Regions from separate parts of the Homo sapiens genome. Here regions 2, 3, 4, 5 and 6 are each linked to region 1. The links are contacts of gene promoters, found by promoter capture Hi-C in blood cells and fetal thymus (Javierre and others, 2016). All regions are on one chromosome and are shown on one strand. Each heading gives the region's core, a stretch centred on a gene start or on the middle of the fragment in contact. The rest is flanking DNA. Distances are from core to core; before and after follow the strand shown.

Region 1 (3,057 bases), core at 165-2,664:
GTCACTCACTTAACCTGCCAGGGCCTCAGATTTCTCATCTGCAAAGTGGGGCTTTTAACAGGACCTTCACTTTAGGTTGTGGTGAGGATGAAATGGGCTAACAAATGCTTAGCACGACAGGTCCCAGCTGTGAGTCAGTATTCAAAACAGGTCTGGGTTCATCACCCAATTCCCCTCCTGCCTGGAGAAGCACAAGGCCCTGGCTGCTCGGGGGAACATTTCTGCCAGCCCAGGGATGCTACTTGAGATGTTCAGGTGGACACACATTTCCCTGACTACACTCCGGCACTGCCTGAGGCCCCGGCAAAATGATTAGACCAAGAGCTGCAGGGCAAGGCCCCCCTATGATTAGACCGAGAGCTGCAGGGCAAGGGCCTCCTTCAGACGCTGGACAGGAAGGGGGTTTTAGAAAGGAACCTTCAGCAAGTGGCTGGTTCCTCCATTGTTAGCACAGCTGGTACATTCAGTAACATCCCCAACCGGGCAGTGGGAGGAGTTGATGGTGACAGAGACCCAAATTGAGGGGGTGGGGGGTGGGCAGCGGTCACAGCCAAGTGCTCAGGAGAGAGAAGAGGCTGCTCGCTGGTGGTAATGGTGACTTCCTCTGCTCTCAGGCCCCTGAAAGCAGCTTCTGACTGAATGGAAAGTCCTTTCTTGATTAAACTCACCCCATATTCTTGGCTCGCCAAACAACAGCTTCCTCCAGGGGCCCGAAGCCTGGGTGCTCCAGGAAGGGTCCCCCTTGCCACCTTTGCTCTTCTCAGGGTTTCTGAGCTGGGCATCTTTGAGCTGATCTCTAACACACCCACCTCCACAGAGCCCTGAGCTTCCTCCTGGCTCCAAAAGCCCAAACTCCCTTCTCTCGGTCCCCAGACTCCAAGGAAGCCACAAGGTCCATACAGCTCATGGGAAGCTGGGGTGTAACATCAGGCCTCAGAGTGGTTCTGACAGCTCCAAGGCTGCAAAACCTGCCATGAGACCAGCTCTCTGAACTCCAAGGACAAGGTCCATGACAGGGTGGCGGGGAAGTGTGCATGTCAGATCACTCTGTCCTGTGACATAAGAACAACCCATCTCAAAGCTGGGCCCCCTCTAAGCCCCTCTGTCATATCTGTGCCCGGGGAGGGAGCAGGTTGTACTCACAGCACGCAGAGCGCGTATGCCCGGGAGATGGACTCGCTGGCACGCACGAGGAAGCTCCCGTCCTTGCCTGTCCTGGAAAGCAGCTCCTCCGCCTTGGAGCGGGTGATGTTGCCATGGTTCCAGCAGGGGACCATGGTGGGCGTGGGCCTCCTCGGCCGGGCCGGCAGGCACCCCCAGGACCCACACACCACCGAGGGGAGCGGAGGCCCCTCCACTGCAACCTGCCGCCCGTTGCCTCTTGGTGGCCTCGGCTGCTGCCACCAGCTTAACTGACTGACTTCCTGTTTCAGGCGCTCAGTGAGGGAAAGGAAACTGAGCTGCGGAGAACTTCCTCATTACAGAAACCAAGCAAGAGAGAGAGAGAGAAAGAGAGAGAGGGGGGGGCCCTGGCCGTCCACCGTCCCCTACACCCTGCCACGGCTGCCGCGGCTCTCTTGCCAGCCCTCTCCTTCCTGGCAACTGGTCGCAGCGTACAATTGAAGTGTCCAGTGGCAGCTGAAGTCCCCCTGGGTGGAATGACCGGCTCTGGAGACGTCAGGAGAGTTGTGGCCACTTCTGAAGAAGCATGGCCTAGCAGGCATGGGTGGGCCAGAGAAGTGGTTCTTCTGCGGCCGTGCTGACACCCACGTGGGATGCCATGCCCTAGACAGGCCCCCGAGCCTTCTGCTCTCCCTCAGGGCTTTTCAGCACCCACCCTGAACCTCCAAAACACCCAAGGGGGCACAGCTTCTCAACTGGGACTACGGCCTGCCCAGGACAGAGCAAACTTGAGGGGGAGGGGACAGTCGAGCCCCACCCCTCCCCTTTAGAGACTCCCAGCGGCCTGGGTGCTGGGAGACCTTGGCTGCCACCAGCCGAGGGCGCCAAGGTCCAAGTGATGGCTCTGTGACCCCATTACCCTCATTCCCAGGGGCGGGTGGGTGCTGCACGGGCAGCACAGCTCTGATCCCTGCAGTCCAGCTTGGAGACACACAAAGGGAGCTTGGAGGGGATGTGGGCCGTTTACAGCGGGAACATAGGCTGGGTTTTTCCCTGGGCTTCTCCAGGATGCTGGGGAAACAAGCTCGGAGAGGAGAACCCCAAAGCCCCACAGGGCAGGCTGGCCGCCTGGCCAAGGACAACACTGGGTGCTGAGTCCTGCGTCTCAGCAGTCGGGGTGGCCGGTCGGACTGCACCGCCTCCAAGACTGGGCATGGCCACATATGCCCACCACTCAAAGAGGAGCTGCCTCTCCAGGGACCGCCATCCAGGACCAGTCATTTCTGAGGGCTCTGCGGTGGACACCCATCCCTCAGCCCCCAGACCTGGGCACCTTCCGTCCTTGGGTCCGGCCCACCAAGGCCGAAGGGGCACGTGTTGACCCGCTGCACAAAGAGTGCCCCCACCATCCCACATCCAGGCCTTGGCCTCCAGGACATGACAACAGACTCCCTCCAGGAAGGGGCACCAGCCAGGCAGCGCCACCACATTCAAGCTGTGGGAACCTGGTCAAGTTTCTTCTCTCTCTCGGCCTTGGTTTCTTCTTGTCTAACTTGAAGGACGTAGCTCGTAAAAGAGCTCACATGTGCCCAGGGGCTCAACATGTGTCACACTGATGGTTGTCCCAGAACAGGGCCCCCAGCACCTCCCCGCTGAGCAACACACATGGCAGGCGAGTCTGTAGGGCAGACAAAGCACTCCCAGTCAAGGACCTCTGGCCAGGCTGGGAGCCAGGCGTGGGGATAGAGTGGTGATGGGAACTGGCCTCCATGCTCCGGCCCTTCCGCAGCACGCCACCTCTGCAGCAGCCCAGTGTGGAGGCCTCTCATTCCCCACCCACGCCTCCACTCAGCACCTGTCCACCCCCTCCTTATGGGGTCATCTCCTATGCTCCCATTGTGTACCTTCACACCCTTCTCACTTCCCTGCTGGCCT
Region 2 (3,104 bases), core at 306-2,805, 300 kb before region 1:
TTTTTCTATTTTTAATTTTTTTAATTATTTTACTTCTTAAATATTTTTGTTAAAAACTAAGAAACAAACACACACATTAGCCTAGACCTACACAGAGTCAGGATCATCAGTATCATTATCTTCCGCCTCCACATCCTATCCCACTGGAAGGTCTTCAGGGACAATGACGTGCATGGAGCTGTCACCTCCTATGATAACAATGCCTTCTTCTGGATACCTCCTGAAGGACCTGCTTGAGGCTGTTTTACAATTTGTTTTTCTTTTTTCTATAAGTAGGAAGAATATACTCTAAAATAATAAAAAGTATAGATAGTAAATACATAAACCAGTAACATAGTTGTTTATTATCATCATCAACTATTATGTACTGTATATACTTGTATGTGCTATACTTTTCTACCACTTGCAGTGCAGTAGGTCTGTTTACACCAGCATCACCACAAACACATAGGTAATTCATTGCCCTACAACATTATAACAGCTACCACGTCACTAGACAATTGGAATTTTTCAGCTTCATTATAATCTTATGGGACCACCTTTGTCCATGTGGATCATCATCCGGAAACATCATTATGCAGAGCACAAGGGTGTACCAGGAATTGATTAGATATGGTTCTTTCAGTTCATACGGCTATCGAATCTGTTCATGGTACCTGTTATTTGTTGTAGAAAATTCTCAGGTATTACTTTTCTTTCTTTTTTTTCTATTTAATACAGAGTTTCGCTCTTGTCGCCCAGGCTGTAGTGTAATGGTGTGGTCTCAGCTCACTGCAACTTCCACTTCCCAGGTTCAAGCGATGCTCCTGCCTCAGCCTCCCGAGTAGCTGGGATTACAGGCATCTGCCACCACACCCAGCTAATTTTTGTACTTTTAGTAGACACAGGGTTTCACCATGTTGGCCAAGCTGGTCTTGAACTCCTAACCTCAGGTGATCCGCCCACCTCAGCATCCAAAACTGCTGGGATTACAGTCGTGAGTCACTGCACCTGGCCACATTATCTTTTCAAATATTGTGTCTCCTCAATTTTCTCTCACTTCTCCTCTCTTGTGACAATTAAACACAAGTAAGACCTTCTTACTATATCTGTCTCCCACCCTCTCCAAATTTTTCCATTTTTTATGTCTCCAGGCTTCCTTGTGGGTATTTTCTTCTGAGCTATCTTCTGGTTCACACAATTTTTTCAGCCTGGGTCTAATCTGCTCTTTTTTTGGTTAGTTAATTTTGATCACTATGCTTTTTCAATTTTATAATTTTCTTTTATTGGCTGGGTGAGGTGGCTCACGCATGTAATCCCAGCACTTTGGGAGGCCGAGGCGGGCAGATCACCTGAGATTGGGAGTTCGAGACCAGCTTAGCTAACATGGTAAGACTCCGTCTCTATTAAAAATACCAAAAAATTAGCTGGGCGTGGTGATGGGCACCTGTAATCCTAGCTACTCGGGGGGCTGAGGCAGGAGAATTGCTTGAACCCAGGAGGCAAAGGTTGTAGTGAGCTGAGATCATGCCACTGCACTACAGCCTGGGTGACAAGAGTGAGACTCCGTCTTAAAAGAAAAAAAAAATGTCTAGTATCTTTAGTAGAGGCGGGATCTTGCCATGTTGGCCAGGCTGGTCTCAAACTCGTGACCTCCAATGATCCACCTGCCTCAGTCCAAAAGTGCTGAGATTATAGGCGTGAGCCATCTGGCCAGTGTGGACTAGAATTTTCATCTGGTTCTTTTCCATAGTTTCTAGTTCTCTGCCAAAACTCTCCATCTGATCTCGTGTCTCCTCCAACACAACGAGCACAGTTGTTATAAAGTCTGGGTCTGGAGTCTGGAAGCCCTGTGGGTCTGTCTACAGCCTGTAGTTTCGACTGGTTTTAGCTCAAGTGCCTCGCCTCCCTTGATGTCTATTTTTTTACTGTATGCACAATCATGAACGTACAAACAGACTCGTGAAAGTCATTAGAGGCCTCCATTGATAACTGGGAGGATTAGAGGGAGATATCTCCCTCTAGAGAGGATTAAAGTTTGCTTCTGTTGGGAATCTAGAGACACTAGTACACTGGGATTACTTTAATTTCAGAGGACTGAGGTGATTTGAAGCAGGGCTGCAGTCCTTCCAATACTTCTGGCTCCTGCGCATTCCTTGGAAGTGGCTTCTTTGGATCCCAATCCAAATTGTGAGGGGAGGGTGTCACCCAGGACTGTTGCCCTTTGGCAGAACCTGGCACCTCAGCCCTGCTAAGGCACTCAGACAGTCTCACAGGGCTCAGCCTCTTGGCTCCCATGTTTTGTTCAGGGCCCAGTGTTCTTTCCCCAGGGCTGCCCTAGGGCTGCCATAAAACTTCAAGGCTTAAAACAAAACTTGGAAAAAAAAAAAAAAAAAAAAAACTTGACTGTCTCACTGCTCTGGGGGCTGGAAGTCGGAGATCAAGGGATCAGAAGGCCGCACTCCCTCTAAAGGCTCTAGGGGAGATTCCATCTGTTATCTCTTCCAGCTTCTGGTGGCCCCAGGCATTCCTTGGTTTGCATCAACGAACTCTAATCTCCGGCTCTATTTTCCCATAACCTTTTTCCCAACATGTCTTTCTGTCCAAATCTCCCTCCCCTTCCTCTTATAAAGAAACCAACACTGGATTTAGAGTTTCTCCTAAGTTCACGATGATTTACTCTCAAAATCTTTAATTAGCCAGGCACAGTGGCTTGAGCCTACGCTCCCAGCTACTCAGAAGCCTGAAGCAGGAGGATCACTTGAGCCCAGGAGTTTGAGACCAGCCTGGGGAATATAGCAAGACCCTATCTCAAAATAAAAAATTTTGGCCAGGCACAGTAGCTCATGTCTGTAATTCTAGCACTTTGGGAAGCCAAAGGGGGAGGATCGCTTGAGCCCAGGAGTTTGAGACCCCAAGCATGGGCAACATAGTGAGACCCTCGTCTCCATAAAAATGTGTTTTTAAATTAGCCAGGCATCATGGAATGCATCTGGAGTCCCAGCTACTCAGGTGGCTGAGGCAGGAGGATTGCCTGAGCCCAGCCAGAGACTGCAGTATGCCACTGCACTCCAGCCTGGACGACCGAGCAAGACCCTGTCTCAGAAAAAAAGAAAAAAAATTTT
Region 3 (3,010 bases), core at 162-2,661, 300 kb after region 1:
ATTAGCTACATAAATTCTGATAAAATACAGTAGAACACTATGATGCCACAGCAGATTAAGCACGGACATTATTCTGTTCAATAACAAGAACATACTGAAGAATGATGCATATAAAAATTATTCCATTTATATAAATGATATAGCTGCACCGTTAGGGTCAAGAAGGCTATATATCCAATTGTTAGGTCTGGAGGCAGAAGACCGTATGCACTTTTAGCTTCATACTTTATGTACAGTTTTCCCAACAAACATTTGTATTCAATACACAGGTGAGAAAATGAGAGGAGGGGAGGAGGGGTGGGGGTCCAAGGATGTATTTGTAACTAGGTGAAATCTTAGCCATCGTCCCTAGCTCAATTTTTCTCACAGTGCACAATGACCCAAAGAAAAATGATGGATCTTGATGAATGCATCCCAAAGCTAAATATAATTGAGCTAATTACTTCAAATATCCATGCAGTATTTCTATTTCTTGTTTGTAATTTATCAAGAATTAACTCAGAATACACTTGTACTTTTATATGACTATATTATGAAGTATCAAAATAATGCACCAAATTATTTTGTGGGTAATCTTAGAAACAATGGATACCCTCTTGACGAGTGCAAGTATCCACTTCTTCATTTGTCAAACGGAAGTGAGAAGCACGGTGGAACTATAATAAAGTTACCCTTCCACTTGTGTCAACTTCACTTAAAGTCAACTCACAGTTTAAGTACTTCTCCCCTTCAGGAAATGTATACACTGTATTTAAGATCCTAAAATAATGTAATATAAATTGTCATATAACGCATGTCCTCTACAAGGAAGATTTTAGGATGGGGGCAAAAGTCTCCTCATCTTTTAGAGAAAGCCATTTGCTCAGGAAGGCCCTTACACTTGTATCACCTTGAAGAAAATGTTTTATTCCAGAAACATATAAATATAAAAAATAGCCTCCAGCTTACCAGAAAGACAAGCAAAACACATATAAAATATTTTCTCAGTTATAACTAGCACTGACACCGGTCCTGCTAATGATACTAAAACTTTAGGGTGGGACATACTACAACGATCAGGTTCTAAAGCTTTCCAACTTGGAAAAATTTTAATCTTCTATAAAGTGGTTCCCATACATGAATAAGGAAGTAAATATAACATGATGAACCTATCGTAAGGCTCAATTAAAGAACTGTTCTACTAAGAATTCACCCTATTCTTTTTGGGAATTAAAACATACTTCCTTTTAATAATGATGAAGACAATAGTTGAGAGCTCTGTCAATCTGCTTTATTTTTAAACAACCTAACCAAATAAAATGACAGTTTCATGTTGTTCTTACCACCTATTTAGTTTATTTAAATTTTACTAGTACATGATATTTAGCAGCCTGGAAATCAGTCAATTTCCACATCAAAGTTTCCTAAAGTTGCAAACAGCCAAGATAATCATCTAGTGTTAGCTCTGCCTATACAAAGAAAAGCCACAATAATCATTATTTAACCAGCAAGTTAAAATTAAGTAATGAGTGGAAAACACAAAACCACAGATTATAATTACAACCTTCTTTCAGAAAATGAGCTACTGAGATCATTAAGAAGAATCACGGGTGGTTGAGATAATGTTAAAAGTACTTTTCACACCAAGTCAGTTCAGTCACTTGACTAGTTTCGTGCCATTCTTCAACATTAATATGTAAATAAAGTCATGACTTCTTACATATGTCACATCTATCTTTTTTACATAGCCTGATTAAATTCTGAATGTAAGCTTTCTATCATATGTGATAACCCTTCATTTCAAAGAAACCAAAAAGCAAGGAGAAATTCAATCATAAACCAAAAAGCAAGGAGAAATTCAATCATTCACTTGTTTCTAGATTAAGTAATGGCGGGGGGCGGGGGGTGCTGTTCAGAGATTGGTTGGTATTTGCAGCACACAAAAGTCGGTGTTATTCACACTTCTTCACCAAGAAGATCTCTCCCTGGCTTGCCCTGAAAAGCACTGGAGGCAAAGCTGCCCAAGTACAACCTCTCCTTGCTACCAACCCACAGCAGAAAAACACAGGAAATGCCCAAGCAGCAGGCCAGAGCCATAAGTGGTCAGTCCCAACTCGAAACCACCACCATGCCACCAAGATGCATGGATCTCAAATTCTGGACCAATGGAACCTAACTCGGTGTATGAATCTGAACTGCCTGTGGAGCTTTTGAAGCACACACATGCCTAGATCCCACCACCCAAAATTTTGTTGCACAGGTATTTCCTTTAAGTTTTACAGATTAGTCTAACATCTCCTCAGGTTAAAAAAAAAAATATTCTCTAAAGATGGACAAATAAAGCCAGAGGGAAAAACACAACTATGTAATAGTACCTAGCAAAACAAGTGGAGACTTTTAATCAGACACTTCACACCTGGATTCCCACATTCTGAGTGGACTACTAAAAGAAATCTCTTCCCAGGAATGCACAATTGAATGCATTTTCTAGAGAGACTGTAGATAAATTACTCTATTTATAAAGAATTTAAATACTCTATACTCATGATCATGCCAATCTTGGTGGTACAATATGCAGAGACAATGGTCTCACTCATTGCAGACATCCAATTCTTCCATTTCTAAAGCATCTCTTACAGAAAATCACAAGGTGTATTTAGACCACTGTTATGATTTAGTCAACGTAAGAGCTACATGATTAAGCAAATATTCATATTACAAATATTTAAGAATGTCGTCATATAGGAGAAAATCAGCAAACCCAAAATAGGGGGCAGATATCAAAGAAACAAGTAATATCAAAATAAGAACTATTTTTCCAAGACAAAAATATGTAAAACTATAGGTTAAATAAATGAATGTGGCAGAATTATCTTTTTTTCTACCCCTAAATGTCCTAGTCCTGATGAGGCAGTTTTTGTTAAAGCCCCTCTCTGGCTGGAGAAGCTCTTGGCACACGCCCCTCACACAGAAACTGTCACAGAGGACTGCAGGTACTTCAGTGCTGCTTCCATAGTTAAGACACTTCAGG
Region 4 (2,823 bases), core at 71-2,570, 280 kb before region 1:
GCATAGTGGCGTGCACCTGTAATCCCAGCTACTCAGGATGCTGAGGCAGGAGAATTGCTTGAACCAAGGAGGCAGAGGTTGCACTGAGCCAAGATCATGCCACTGCACTCGAGCCTGGGCAACAGAGCAAGACTCTGTCTCAAAATAAAATAAAATAAAATAAAACAAAACGGTTAAAATGGTAAAATTTGCCAGGTGTGGTGGCTCATATCTATAATCCCAGCACTTTGGGAGGCCAAGGCAGGATCATCACTGGAGGTCAGGAGTTCGAGACCAGCCTGGCCAACATGGGGAAACCCCGTCTCTACTAAAAATACAAAAATTAGCCAGGTGTTGTGGCACACGCTTGTAATCTCAGCTACTCAGGAGGCTGAGGCGGGAGGATTGCCTGAACCCAGGAAGTGGAGGTCACGGTGAGCCGAGATCACGTCACTGCACTCCAGGCTGGGCCACAGAGTGAGACTACATCTCAAAAAATAAAATAAATAATATAATGGTAAAATTTATGTTATGTGTATTTTACCGCACACAAACACACACACACACACACAAGCTGGCTGCATGGAGTGTGCCAGTTTTCTGGGTGTGTATGTGTGTGTCCTTACCCAGGCATAGGTCTAGCTGTGGTCCCAAAGAAATCTGGTCCCAAAGAAACGCCTATGAGCCACGGTTCTGTGATGCATCCGAAGGCAAAGCATCATTCCTAACACCTCTGAGCACAACTGTCCAGAAAGCAGCTTTCATCAGAAACCGTTTTGGAGCCCCAAGTTTGCTGCCTTTGATATCTTGAGAAACAATCAAACAAGGAAGGTGAACAGGCTTACCTGGAGGTGAGCTCTCCCAGAAAGCTAGAAAACACAAACAAACGCCTGTCGTTAACTGTCACAGTGGTAACACGACCCTTTCCCATGATTCAGAGGCAGGACACAGCCCAGCTCTCATGGCCCTTGCACCCGAACTCACAACATCCAGGGTCTTCCCATCCCTTAATGTTCAACTTCATTACCTGTGACTTCATCTCTTTCTCAAGATGATTAGTTTAAAAAGGCCGGGCATGGGGGATCATGCCTGTAATCCCAGCACTTTGGGAGGCCGAGGTGGGCGGATCACTTGAGGTCATGAGTTCCAGACCAGCCTGACCAACGTGGTAAAACCCCATCTCTACTAAAAATACAAAAATTAGCCGGGCATGGTGGCAGGCGCCTGTAATCTTAGCTACTCGGGAGGCTGAGGCAGGGGAATTGCTTGAACCTGGGAGGTGGAGGTTGCAGTGAGCTGAGATCATGCCACTGTACTCCAGCCTGGGTGACAGAATAAGACTCCGTCTCAAAAAAAAAAGTTGGCTGGGCACGGTGGCTCACACCTGTAATCCAGCACTTTGGGAGGCTGAGGTGGGCAGATCACTTGAGGTCAGAAGTTCGAGACCAGCCTGGCTAACATGGTGAAACCCCGTCTCTACTAAAAATACAAAAATTAGCCAGGCATGGTGGTGGGCACCTGTAATCCCAGCTACTCAGAAGCTGAGGCAGGAGAATCACTTGAACCTGGGAGGTGGAGGTTACAGTGAGCCGAGGTCATGCCACTGCACTCCAGAGTGAGAGATTACATCTCAAAAAAAAAAAGTCAAGCCCTAACATTCAAGATAAGTCACAAGAGGTCATTGTGAAATACCTGCTGGTTGCTTTCCTTGACTGCTAAAAGAAACTCCACCCTGTTTTTAGATCCTTTTATGCACTATCCACAGTGAAAAAAAAAAAAAAAAAAACACTATGCTAACGAAAAATGCAAAATAGACCCATGTTCTACTTTGTTAGAAATTTGGGAAACTCTTTTTAAACGCTTATTTTCCTCAAGGGAATTCTTTACTACTTAGAAGTATGAAACCTAGGCACAGACTTGCCTTTGATGGCAGAACTACCCAAGGCTCATCCAGGTAAAAGGCCAGAGCCTTTGGCAATGGAATTTGAAACGAAAATGAGAATTCAAGTTTTTCCCTTTTGGTAAGATTAAACAAATGGAAGAAACTGGCTTCACATGAAAATGAAAGTGGAAACCTGTTCCCTTAAAACTCTGAGATATTGGCACTCTTGTATGAAAAGAAGACTCCTGTGCCCTGTGATTACATGTGTGAGAGGGGAGGGGAAAGTCCCCACTTTATGGATGGATACCTTCTAAGATGCAAAAACATGAAGATTTACTGAGAGTTCTTTCACAGCAGTTATTCTTTTCTGAAGGATAACATTTGACTAATCCTCATTCTTGCACATCAGCTTCTACCACATGCACATATGCACACGTATTTTTGCAAAGTGGCGCTAAGAATGCACACATTTCAGAGTCTGCTTCTCCACCCTTTCCCACCTGACATTTTATCAGACAGAAGCATGGTACTAGACAAACAGAATCTCTCCCAAGCTCTACTTGGTAATCCTTGGTAGAAGCTATGGGCCTTTCCTTGCTTTCTGTCTCCCAGTCATTCAGGAAAGGAAAAGTTCAGACCATCTAAGACCAGGACAGAGCAGCCCGAGGGTTGGTGCCGGGACACTTACCCTGACACTGTGAGCTTCACCTTGATCTGGTAAGACACCAGGATTCCCAGGACGGTCCGGTCTATGCCCTCCTTAATGCTGCCCAAACAGAAGGGAAAAGGAGAATGATGGAGAGCAGAGGAGGGTGAAGAGCAGATGGGCAGCCTTTCCATTCGAGGCAGGCATGCCGTCATGGAGGTTCTCCAGGGACTGGTGAACTCACTGAGCTTCCAAAGTCCTAGAAGTTCATGTACTTGGGGAGTGGGTATGGGGACTCCTTGCACGCACTGGAGGA
Region 5 (2,940 bases), core at 406-2,905, 330 kb before region 1:
AAAACAAAAATGCTAGAGTTTACGAAATCTGACAAGAAAAGCAAACTAAACTAATAAAATTAGAAATGCAAAGGAGATTCAACCAGAGACACAGGTGTTTAAACTACACAACAGTACACGCTACTAACTTTGAAGGTGTGAAATTTGTGGGAAAGTAAATTACAGATGTGGACTCAAAAAGTGAAAAGGTTCAAAAAATGATCAAAATGCAAGAAATAAATATTTTAGGATTTATTTCTATTACAGCCTTATCTCCCTAAAAAGTCTTCTTGACAAATAATTTAAAATAAATTCTCTCGAACTTAAGAAACAACCAATCCCAAAGCTACATAAAATGTTGCAGAAAACATAAACTCATAGAAAGTTACTAAATGAATTTTATGGGGTTGGTTTAACTCTGAAATCAAAACACAGTATGTCCAACTATTATGTATCCATTAAAATTAAAAACAGAAAAAACAATTGTTTAAAACTGCAATAAGGCTACATTCTCACCCAAAACAAATGCATACATACCAGTGGGAAAATTCTAAATTGCAAGATAAAGGAGTAAAATTCAACATTACCAAGAATAATTTTTTTATTAGGAAATATGCAAATAACTGAAACCAAAATGAACATCTAAATTAATGCCCAGGGCCAGGCACAGTGGCTCATGCCTGTAATCCCAGTACTTTGGAAGGTTCAGGCGGGTAGATCACTCCAGGCCAGGAGTTTGAGACCAGCCTGGCCAATATGGTGAAACCCCATCTCTACTAAAATTACGAAGATTATCTGGGCATAACGGTGCACGACTATAATCCCAGCTACTAGGGAGGCTGAGGCATGAGGATCCCTTGAACCTGGGAGACGGAGGTTGCAGTGAGCCGAGATCACACCACCGCACTTCAGCCTGGGTGACAAAGGGAGACAACATCTCAAAAAAATTCATTAATTAATCAACTGATGCTCAGAACACTCCAAAGAAATTCAACACCTACTCCTATTAAAGACTCTAAAAACCACGAATCAAAGAAAAATCTATTTATGTGGTTAAAAATGTCTCTTCCCAGCTGGTAAAAATAAATTAATAGAGAAAACTACAAATACTCCAAGTAAAATAAGAGCAGTTAATCAACACAAAATAAGCAGAGGTTTAGACAGAGAAAGGAAAATCCCATTTGTATTGGCAACATCAACAATGAATCCATCAATAAATAAAATAAAACAAAACTTGAAAGCACCTGAAACTAGCACTAACCCAAAATATCAGATCCTAAACTTGAGGAAAATTACTCACCTTGACTGAATTATAAAAGAATAATTTTTTTAATTAGGGTACACACTTTTTGTCTACATGGGATGGCCTAATAACATAAAGAAAAACAGCTTTAAAAGTTCTAGTGCTGTTATTAGAGTCAAACCTTACACAGGCAGGCGCTAAAGTCAGCCCGTAAAGCCTAAATTATAAAATCCTACAAGAAAATGCTACTATAGCCATTAAATAATATCATGAACATTTAGATCAGCTGACATGAGCAACTCTCTACTATAAATTGTCCTGGGGGGGGAAAAAAACACAGGTGTAAACCAAAAGGTTCAGCATGATCTCATGGGTACATGTAGGTAAAGACATAAATATACAGAAATAAAGATAAACACTGTAGAGTAAGCAGCTGGCCACTTCCAAGTGGTGAGATCACATGATTCTGTGCATTTAGAACTTTTGCAGAAAGTCCTACATAACTTTTATAAATTTGGAAGGAAGAAAGTTTAAACATAAAAAAGGAAAAAAAAAAGAAATACACCAAAATATTAACATTCAATGTTTTTTGAGGTGGCTGTTATGGCTGCTTTTTAATTGCTTTAACATACTTGTCTGCATTTTCCAAATTTTCTACATTAATCACAAAAAACAAAACTCTGTACAGAGGTAGTAAGATGTGAACCAGCAAAGCGTGGTGGCTCACACCTGTAATCCCAGGATTTTGGGAGGCCAAGGAGGGTGGATCACCTGAGGTTGGGAGTTCGAGACCACCCTGACCAACACGGAGAAACCCTGTCTCTACTAAAAATACAAAATTAGCCAGGTGTGGTGGCACATGCCTGTAATCCCAGCTACTCGGGAGGCTGAGGCAGGAGAATCGCTTGAACTCGGGAGGCGGAAGTTGCTGTGAGCTGGAGATCACGCCATTGCACTCCAGCCTGGGCAACAAGAGCCAAACTCCGTCTCAAAAAAAACAAAACAGACGTGAACCAAAACACATATAAAAATTTTTCATTTGGTCCCTATTGTCCTTTTGTGCTTATGCATGCCAAATTCTTGGTTATTCTCCAACCACAGTATTACTTTCAGCATTAAATTCAAATTTTACCAGCAATCATTCCAATCAGTAAGAAAAGAATGAAAACGTTTGAACTGCTTGGACACATGTTCAGATCAAAAAGGAAAGCCAACTTCAGTGAAGAATCAAGAAAGGCATGACTGAGGAATCTTACCGTAAAACTGTTGTTGACGTTTTTGGTACTGGATTCAGCTACGCTGGCATCTGTCAGATCCACCTCATCAAATATGATTGACTAGAAAGAGACAAACACAGGGACTAAGGCACATAAAGACAGGTACATCCCTAAGCACTAGCCAGCGCTGCCCACCACACCCCAATGATCCCTAACAAGCACCCACAGAAGCCCCAGTACCTTGAAACTGTAGCATCCAATCAATAAGCCAATCCAAATTAACCCACCCACCTGCTTCTAACCAAAAGCTCGGGCTCACAGGTATAGTGCCATGATTTTTTTAAAAAAATCTACAAACATTGTCATTGCATTAGTGAAGGAAGAAAGAGAGAGAACCAAAGCAAACAACCCAATGCTGGTATTTCTGTATTTACTACTGTCAATACCAGTATTCACTTTTACATGTGAAGTATGTTCTCACACAGTGTTTTAGCTGAGGGA
Region 6 (3,113 bases), core at 274-2,773, 260 kb after region 1:
GAAAGAAAACAATTTAAGAGAGAAAAGACATTCTTGGTCCCGAAGCAAACGGACACTCATTGAGAAAACAACAACAAAAAACAACTAGCTTATATGAAAATTAATTTAAAATGGACCATGAACTTAAATGTAAATTATAAAAACTATAAAATTTTTCCACACACACACAAAAAAAACCATTGGCATCTAAAGCTAGGCAAAGTGTTCTTGTTAAACTTAATACAAAAAAGAACAACCTATAAAAGAAAAACATTTATCTATTGGATTAATCAAAATTTACACCTTTTTGCTCTGTGAAAGACTCTATTAAGAGAATGAAATGAAAAGATAAAGACTGACAAAAAATATGTACAAACCACATATCCATCAAAGGACTAGTATCTAGAATCAGTAATCAAAAATCTCTGAACAGGCCGGGCACAGTGGCTCACGCCAGTAATCCCAGCAGTTTGGGAGGCCAAGGCAGGCAGATTATCTGAGGTCAGGAGTTCGAGACCAGCCTGGCCAACATGGTGAAACCCCATCTCTACTAAAATGAGCCGGGCATGGTGGCACACGCCTGTAATCTCAGCTACTCAGGAGGCTGAGGCAGGAGAACTGCTTGAGCTCGGGAGACAGCGGTTGCAGTGGGCTGAGACTGTGCCACTGCACTCCAGCCTGGCCGACAGAGCTAGACTCTGTCTTTAAAAAAAAAAAAAAAAAATCTCTGGACAAAGGAAAGCCCTGCCCTGATGGCTTCTCTGGTGAAAAACGCACCAAACATTTAAGGAAAAACTAATCATAATCCTTCTCAAACTTTTTCCAAAAACTGAAAAGGAAGCAAGATTACCTACACTTCCTAACTAATTCTATGAAGCCAAAATTACCCTGGTATCAAAGTCAGACAAAGGCTCTAAAGAAAAATATAGACCAATATCCTTTATGAACACTGATGCAAAAATTCTTAACAAAATACTAGCAAAGCAAATTCAGCAATATATTAAAAAGATTATACACCATAATCCAAGTGGGATTTATTTATTCCTAGAATGCAAGGATGGTTCAAGGCATCAATATATGAAAATTGATCAATGTAATATACCATATTAATAAGGGGGGAAAAAAACCACATGGTCATCTTAATTGACACAGAAGTAGTATCACCCTTTCATAAGGGTCAAGAAACTAAGAATAGAGAGATCTAACTAAATATAATAAAAGTCATATATAAAAATCCCACAGTGGACATCATATTCAATAGTGAAAAACTGAAAGCTTTTCCTCTAACATTAGGAGATAGCGAAGGACGCCCACTTTCACCACTTCCCTATTCAAGATAGTACTAAAGGTTCTAGTCAGAACAACTGGGCAAGAAAAAAAAAAAGCATCCAAATTAGGAAGAAGTCTGTTCACAGATGATATAATCTTTTATGCAGAAAATTCTAGATTCTTTTTTTCTAAAAACAGGTTAGAAGTAAAAAATAAATTCAGCAAAGTGGCAGGACACAAAGTCAACGCTGAAAAATCAGTTGCATTTCTATACACCAACAATGAACAATCTGAAAAGAAAATTAGAAAAAAATTCCCCTTACAATAACATCAAAAAGAATACATACTTCGGGATTAACCAAGGATGTAAAAATCTTGTACAAAGAAAACTACAAAACACTGCTAAAAGAAATTAAAGACCTAAATAAATGGAAACACATCCATGTTCATGGACTGGAAGATTTAACATTGTTACAATGTCAGTACTACCGAAAGCAACCTACAGATTAAAGATAATCCCTATTAAAATCCCAATGAAGCTTGCTGCAGAAACAGAAAAATCCCATCCTAAAATACATACGAAGTCTCAAAAGACAGCAAATGGCCAAAACAATGTTTCTTTCTTGAAAAATAGCAAGAGATCTATCATGCAACAATGACTATAGTTAACAATGTATTGTACTCTTAAAAAACACTGCCAAGTAGATTTTTAAGTGTTCTCACTATAAAATGATTAGTATGCTTGTTAATTAACCTGACTTAGCCATCCATAATATGTATGCGTATTTAAAAACATCATGTCGTATACAACAAATATATAATGTATATGTCTTTTTTTTGTTTGTTAAGACAGGGTCTCTGTTACTCAAGCCAAGTGCTGTGCTCAATGCAGCCTCAACTTCCTGGGCTCTAGCAATTCTCCTGCCTCAGCCTCCCAAGTAGCTGGGACTACAGGTGCATACCACCATGCCTGGCTTTTTTATTATTTGTAGAGACAGGGTCTCACTGTGTTGCCCAGGCTGGTCTCGAACTCTTGGACTCAAGTGATCCTCCCGCCTCAGACTCCCAAAGTGCTGAGATTACAGGCATGAGCCACCACGCCCAGCCCCTTATATGACTATTTAAAAATGTAATTAATAAAATTTTTTGGCCAGGTGCAGTGGCTCACACCTATAATCCCTCTTTGGGAGGCCAAGGTGGCAGAGGAAAGACAGGGAGTACCACTTACGGCCAGGAGTTCAAAACCAGCCTGGTCAACATAGCAAGAATTTGTCTCTTTTTTTTCTTTTTAAAGATGGGGTGGGATCTCTTGGCTCGGCGCAATGGCTCATGCCTGTAATCCCACCTACTTGGGTGGCTGAGGCAAGAGAATTGCTTGAACCCAGAAGGCAGAGGTTGCAGTGAGCCAAGATTGCCCCACTGCACTGCAGACTGCGTGACAGAGCAAGGCTCTGTCTCAAAAAAAGCGAGAGACAGGGTCTCACTATGTTGCCCAGGCTGATCTCAAACTCCTGGACTCAAGCAGTCCTCTGGTCTCAGCCTCCCAAGGAAACAGGATTACAGGCATGAGCCAGCGTGTGTCAGCTGAAACCTCATCTCTAAAAAAGAAAAATAATTAGCTGAGTATGGTGGTGTGTGCTTGTTCTAAGGAGGCTAGGGTGGGATCACTGGAGCCCAGGAGTTTGAGGCTACAGTGAGCCATTATCATACCACTGCACTCCAGCCTGGGCAACAGAGCAAGACCCGGTCTTAAAAAAAAAAAAAGAAAAAAAGAAAAGAAAAACAAAGCTGGAGGACTCACATTTCCTGATTTCAAAATTTATTGCAAAGATAGAGTAATCAAAACAGTGTAATGCCAATATAAA

The links. Contacts are between HindIII fragments. The CHiCAGO score rates a contact against its expected background, and 5 or more counts as called.
Region 2: a contact is called between a fragment that was not itself captured here and the fragment with the promoter of INPP5D in region 1, in 1 of 17 cell types (neutrophils). The highest score is 8.7, in neutrophils.
Region 3: a fragment that was not itself captured here is called in contact with the fragment with the promoter of INPP5D in region 1 in 2 of 17 cell types (naive B cells and endothelial precursors); the score reaches 5.6 in naive B cells.
Region 4: a contact is called between a fragment that was not itself captured here and the fragment with the promoter of INPP5D in region 1, in 1 of 17 cell types (neutrophils). The highest score is 6.5, in neutrophils.
Region 5: a contact is called between a fragment that was not itself captured here and the fragment with the promoter of INPP5D in region 1, in 1 of 17 cell types (neutrophils). The highest score is 6.7, in neutrophils.
Region 6: a fragment that was not itself captured here is called in contact with the fragment with the promoter of INPP5D in region 1 in 1 of 17 cell types (neutrophils); the score reaches 6.5 in neutrophils.

What each region holds. Positions count from the first base shown.
Region 1 is chr2:233,058,699-233,061,755 of GRCh38, reverse strand. INPP5D (inositol polyphosphate-5-phosphatase D) reads right to left here and starts at 1,414. Exons shown (of 27, transcript NM_001017915.3): 1 at 1,144-1,414. The coding sequence starts at 1,277. RefSeq lists enhancers at 770-859, 1,460-1,739 and a silencer at 1,180-1,259. The HindIII fragment of the contact is 5,811 bases long and covers 1-3,057 here.
Region 2 is chr2:233,360,261-233,363,364 of GRCh38, reverse strand. The region is part of intron 1 of DGKD (diacylglycerol kinase delta); the gene reads right to left. Among named protein-coding and RNA genes, the nearest start is that of DGKD, 7.3 kb to the right of the region's middle. The HindIII fragment of the contact is 7,993 bases long and covers 1-3,104 here.
Region 3 is chr2:232,756,645-232,759,654 of GRCh38, reverse strand. The region is part of intron 6 of GIGYF2 (GRB10 interacting GYF protein 2); the gene reads right to left. Among named protein-coding and RNA genes, the nearest start is that of KCNJ13, 18 kb to the left of the region's middle. The HindIII fragment of the contact is 682 bases long and covers 1,071-1,752 here.
Region 4 is chr2:233,338,480-233,341,302 of GRCh38, reverse strand. SAG (S-antigen visual arrestin) reads right to left here. Exons shown (of 16, transcript NM_000541.5): 12 at 2,550-2,627; 13 at 825-848. Among named protein-coding and RNA genes, the nearest start is that of DGKD, 15 kb to the left of the region's middle. The HindIII fragment of the contact is 5,690 bases long and covers 1-2,823 here.
Region 5 is chr2:233,390,022-233,392,961 of GRCh38, reverse strand. It overlaps DGKD (diacylglycerol kinase delta), which reads right to left. Exons shown (of 30, transcript NM_152879.3): 3 at 2,479-2,559. Among named protein-coding and RNA genes, the nearest start is that of DGKD, 37 kb to the right of the region's middle. The HindIII fragment of the contact is 5,698 bases long and covers 1-2,940 here.
Region 6 is chr2:232,800,489-232,803,601 of GRCh38, reverse strand. The region is part of intron 14 of GIGYF2 (GRB10 interacting GYF protein 2); the gene reads right to left. Among named protein-coding and RNA genes, the nearest start is that of KCNJ13, 25 kb to the right of the region's middle. The HindIII fragment of the contact is 533 bases long and covers 1,257-1,789 here.